Linked DNA regions of Homo sapiens: region 1 is linked to region 2. Evidence: promoter capture Hi-C in human tissues and cell types (Jung and others, 2019). All regions are on one chromosome and are shown on one strand. Each heading gives the region's core, a stretch centred on a gene start or on the middle of the fragment in contact. The rest is flanking DNA. Distances are from core to core; before and after follow the strand shown. Region 1 overlaps ADH5 (alcohol dehydrogenase 5 (class III), chi polypeptide). Region 2 holds the start of ADH7 (alcohol dehydrogenase 7 (class IV), mu or sigma polypeptide).

Region 1 (2,940 bases), core at 37-2,536, 360 kb after region 2:
GTAATAATGATGTTGAGTTTGAGGGGATGGAGAGTCGAAAAACACAATTTTAGTTGTCTTAAAGGTATCATTTAAAACTTAGTATGTTGCTTCCTTTTACAGCATTCGAACTGTTGTAAAGATTTAATTCAAAAGAGAAAAATAATGTCCATCCTGTCGTGATGTGATAGGAGCAGCTTAACAGGCAGGGAGAAGCGCCTCCAACCTCACAGCCTCGTAGAGCTTCACAGCTACTCCAGAAAATAGGGTTATGTGTGTCATTCATGAATCTCTATAATCAAGGACAAGGATAATTCAGTCATGAACCTGTTTTCTGGATGCTCCTCCACATAAATAATTGCTAGTTTATTAAGGAATATTTTAACATAATAAAAGTAATTTCTACATTTGTGTGGAAATTGTCTTGTTTTATGCTGTCATCATTGTCACGGTTTGTCTGCCCATTATCTTCATTCTGCAAGGGAAAGGGAAAGGAAGCAGGGCAGTGGTGGGTGTCTGAAACCTCAGAAACATAACGTTGAACTTTTAAGGGTCTCAGTCCCCGTTGATTAAAGAACAGATCCTAGCCATCAGTGACAAAGTTAATCAGGACCCAAGTCTGCTTCTGTGATATTATCTTGAAGGGAGGTACTGTGCCTTGTTCATACCTGTACCCCAAATTCCTAGGATGGCATCTGCCCTTCAGGGGGCACTAAAATGTATTATTGAAACAGCATTCTGGGCTTAAATAGGTGTATGTATGTGTTGGTTGTGACTGTACTATTTCTAGTATAGTGAACTACATACTGAATATCCAAGTTCTCAGCACCTACTTTTGTCAAATCTTAACATTTTGCCACTTCGAGATCACATTGCCATTCCTCCCCTCCAGAGGTAACAATTATCCACAATTTGATGTTTATCATTCCTGTGTTGTTGTACTTTCACTGTGTATAACCTAAACCATCTACTCTTTAGTACTGTTTTATATATTTTTAAGCCTCATACTTGCTCATTCTACAGCTTTTTTCACTCATTATTGTATAATTATATCTGAAGCTCTCGTTCATTAATTTTAGTCCTGTGTAGCAGAATTCAATTACGGGAACTACCATAATTTATCTGTTCTCCAGTTGAAGGCATGAAGTTGTTGCCAGTTTCTGTATTATAACACTGTAGTGGAACATTCTTCTGCATTGGGCTCACTGCGTGTTACCTAAGACGTATCACAGAATAAACACATTTAGCCTTATAGACATTGCCAAATTGCTCTTCAAAGTAAATGTGAGTTTTTGTGAATTACATGAGTATGGAATGGTGTTTTATTATGACTTTAGTTTGCATTTTCCTCAATTCTCGTTAAATCCTTCATTCTAATGGACATTTTATTGTGAAGAACCTGTTCATATCCTGTGCTCAACTTTGTATTGAATTATTTTTCTCTGAATAATTTTTAGGAGTTCTTTTATTCTAGACATCAATCATTTGTCAGTTTTATATGTTGCAAATATCTTCTAGTCTATCTTGTGACTTTTCTTTTTACTTTATGGTATTTTGTTGAATAAAGTTTTAATGTAGTCACATAAATCTTCCTGGTGGTGGTAAGTAACATTTAGGTTATTTTATCCTGAGAAGTATAAAGAAGCAAACAAAAATGGTCCAGGATCTTACCATCCTGATAATCCTTGACATAAAAATAAATTAATGAATGCAATATACCTAAGGGTTAGAAAATATAAATTGTTAGGAAATTATATAATGAGAAAGAAAAGCTATACACCTGCAAAAAAATGGGTGATTACTGTTAAGTTTCTTACGTATCTTTTTAGGAGTTTCTATGCACACAATAGCATATATATCCTCTAAAATTACACGAAAGGAATACTATCAACACTACTCTGTGAACTTTTTTCTCCACATGATAACATAGAGTTTATATCAGTGCATCACGTTTACCATGCAAATATCTTTTGGTTGGATTGATGCTATGTGCTTTTTCAATTTATTGATATGGTTTAAATGCTCCCACAGAATTGTGTGAGAGAGCAATATGTCATTGATTGAAAAGTGGGAAACAAACTGGTAGTAATGGTCAGGATTTCCCCTTTTCAGAACTTTGGTGCATTTGAAGTGCCTGACAATGTAGTCCAGCTTCCCTCCTGTTTTACCTAGAGGGCTGGAGATATGAGGGCCCAAAGGGGCCACAACTGTTATCTTAAGTGGACTGAAAGGAAGACGAAATTAAAACTAGCTTCTACTCCACTTGTAGGAAATGTGCTTTTAATCTTTGGTGTAGCCCAGCCTTCTAGGAACAAAAGTATCCTATGTTGGCAACTGCAGTAACAAAACAGTTATGGAGAGTATGGAGGAGAGCCAGTAACTCCTAAAGGTCTTGTTCCTTTGACTTTTCTTCTCAAACAAACATGAGATATTCATGAATTGCAATGGCAAACGTTTTTTAGGTTCGCCAATATGAAAATGTAAAGCAGTTTTAAGATGATTAATATTAAAATAGGCCAAGTGCGGTGGCTCACAACTGTAATTCCAGCACTTTGAGAGCCCAAAGTGGGAGGATCACTTGGCCTCCGAAGTTCAAGACCAACCTGGGCAACACAGATGTCATCTCTAGAAAAAAAAAAAATTTTTTTTTTTTAATTGGCCGGGCATGGTGGCATGTGCCTGTGGTCCTAGCTACTAAGGAGGCTGAGTTAGAAAGATGGCTTGATCCCAGGAGGTCGAGACTGCAGTAAGTCATAATCGCAGCACTGCACAGCCTGGGCAACAGAGTGAGACCCTGTCAAATAAATAAATAAAATACTACTCTAATTTTTGTAGCTAGCCTATTATTGAATTTGCTTTTCATTTCTGGCACAGTTAAGTACATACTCTTGAGCCAGCTGATTAAGTTTAGTATTAGCATTTCCTGGCTGAAAGCACAACTATCTCTTTCAGAGATCCAGT
Region 2 (2,799 bases), core at 73-2,572:
TTTGTCTTATAGTGCCAGCAAACATACTGGAGTTCTTCAGCACTACTGCTAAAGCAATGGTGCTTACTCACAAGCCAAATCAACTGGCAATGGTTTTTCCTGGTGGATTTGATTTGGTTAATGAGTTGTAGTAACAAATTCTAATTACAAATTCTGAATTTGACATAATATATGTTAAATTGGATGTACATTTACTATGTTATATTGAAAGAGAGATGTGTGGAAAAAATGTATACTTATTTTTGAAAAGAAACTTTTGTTTGTATCTGAAAAATAAACTCTTAGCAAATTTCATCTCTGGGTTGTTAAGAGTCCAGGTTCTGGACTTCATAGCTTGAACAGCTTTGTCTGAAGACTTAGAAAACCTGCTTCACTGGATCACTTAACAAAAGTAAAATATCCTTTGTGTAAAGTTTTCTTGGAGGTGATGGTGTACCAGTATGCTGACCATCTGGTGTACCAGTATGCTGACCATCTACTGTCAAAAATAACATCTATACTGGACATTCTCCTATCAAATAATAGATCCAGAAGCTTCTGGAGCCATTGCAACTTATATTAAGAAATAATGGTCTGTAATGGTTAAACAGCTACTCAAGAAGACCTAGGTACTTGCCCAAGTAGATGAAAACCCTCTGGCATTCGATAGCCAGTATGCAGGCTGGATTTCAATTTCTCTTGAGCCCCTGCACTGTGTTACATTGGTGCCGTAAACAAACTGTACAACCATATGAGGCAACTCTGTGGTTAATGGGATTTGGAGTCAGATGATAATTTCTCTAAGTGCAGACACAGAAAGTTTCACTTAACTTTCTACACCTAAAATACTTAGAAACCATAGTCATCCATATTGATATTTTATATCATCTCAACTTCTCTTGCCCAAACTTGACCTACTGTTGCAATTATTTTACATTTCCTTGGCTCTGTTTTCATTTATATTTAATTCCAGAAACCACATCAAGTCTTTGCAGAATGAAGTAGAGCATTAAGAAGTAGAGATGTACACACGCATCTCTAAAATCAGCCATGCCTAGGCAAAGCAGCTTGCACTTAAACACCCAATACATTTTTCATGATTGTGTTGAAGTGAAGTAACCTAACCCGTTTTTATATCCTTCAAAATAAGGTGGATAGGAATGCTTTCAGCCCTTTTCAATAGCTTTGATTATCTTGTTTTTGTTAGATCCCTCCTCTTGGTTTGATCATAGTAGTTACTGTATTTCTTTTTATAAGTTGGTCTGCAAAGGGTAGGGCTTGCAGACCATTGCAAAGTTGTGACGGCTGTGAGTCATATTGCTGAAGGTGGAACTCTGAAGCCAGACTATCTATGTGAAGGCACAAGCTGCTGTTATATACAACAGAGTGAACTGAGCATCAGTCAGAAAAAGTCTATGTTTGCAGAAATACAGATCCAAGACAAAGACAGGATGGGCACTGCTGGAAAAGTAAGTGGAACATTTCTGTCCCCTCCTCATCATGACCTAATGATGTGAGGCTGATACTTAGAACTTTGAATCCATTAAAGTAATTAAACACTTGGAGATATTCCTTGAGGAATGAAATGCTTGGTGAGCAGGCATACAGTGAGGGAAACACTGGATATGGTGTTTCAGAGAATGTCAGTGGAAGCAGGGGTAAGTTGGAAATAGTATATCCAATGTCAGCAAGACATTGGTGGAAAATAGAGAAATTGATTTATATTGGCATTATTCATAATTTGATTTCCGGATAGCTGGGCAATTGCTCCAGGAAGCCAAATGTTTCCACAAGGACACTTCAATCGTCTCAGTAGCATGTGCTGCACTCGCTGCAGTAGTTCAATGGGAAACCAGGGTCTCATGCCCAGATGTTGGAAGAAACGTTCCTGCCATTAAGAATGGAAAATGCTAATTCTGGGATGCAAAATGGCCAAGAAAGTGTCATGAATTTTAGGTTTCTTACAAATGTAATTTTTATCAAAATATATATTTAAAAATTCTTTAAAATCAAGACTATATTATTGGTAAAGTATGTTTATCGTTCTAAAAACAACAGAGTTAGCAGAGTTGGTATTAACTTTAGAAACAGCTTTGCTTTGTTTTTTTTTATTTGAAAATAGGTCAGTATATTTCCTTACTTTAAATGGGTACATAATTGCTTAAAGGACTAAATTTTTTTGTTTGTTTTGTTTTAACTTGAACAATTTTGCATTTAGCTTGCTTAAGGTTTTGGAAAAATAAAGATGACATGAGAAGTCTGGGTAATGTGACAAGTCAGGAGACTCTATGATGTTAGAATTTGAAATAAGTTTTACTAGAATTGGATAGAACTGGAATAAAACCATCCTAATTTGGGTCAGAAATCCAGCAAAACTAGATTACTTGGGAAGTTAATTTTGCACTACAGAAACTAGCAACTCTACCCATGGATATTAATGAATCTTAGAACTGAAAGGAATCTTAAAAATTTGCAACTTTTACCACCCAACAGATGCTTCAGGTCTGGTTACACTATTTCTAGGAAGTCGATATTCATCCACTGTAAGAACATTTCTGATGATGGAGAAAGTAGCCTCAAGGCAGCACTTTCCAATTAATAATACAGTATATAATATATAAAGAGTATAAAAGTTATATGATTTTGATATATGGTCATGCAATAGTGTGGTTTGCCTAAGGATTATATATTTCCCAACTTTCTGTAGTGTTCCAGTGTAGCTCTTGAAAGGAGTTTCCCTTTACATTGGGATTGATTTTTTCTCTTTATAATAAATGTTTTCTTTTTCATTAAAAAAGTAAAAGATAACTGTATTAGTTT

The links. Contacts are between HindIII fragments. The study calls those that stand out against the background at their distance.
Region 1: a fragment that was not itself captured here is called in contact with the fragment with the promoter of ADH7 in region 2 in 1 of the 25 tissues and cell types used here (aorta).

Annotation. Positions count from the first base shown.
Region 1 is chr4:99,069,604-99,072,543 of GRCh38, reverse strand. It overlaps ADH5 (alcohol dehydrogenase 5 (class III), chi polypeptide), which reads left to right. Exons shown (of 9, transcript NM_000671.4): 9 at 103-1,566. The coding sequence ends at 127. Among named protein-coding and RNA genes, the nearest start is that of ADH5, 18 kb to the left of the region's middle. The HindIII fragment of the contact is 4,225 bases long and covers 1-2,940 here.
Region 2 is chr4:99,433,865-99,436,663 of GRCh38, reverse strand. It overlaps ADH7 (alcohol dehydrogenase 7 (class IV), mu or sigma polypeptide), which reads left to right and starts at 1,322. Exons shown (of 9, transcript NM_000673.7): 1 at 1,322-1,448. The coding sequence starts at 1,431. RefSeq lists a promoter at 836-1,409. The HindIII fragment of the contact is 9,235 bases long and covers 1-2,799 here.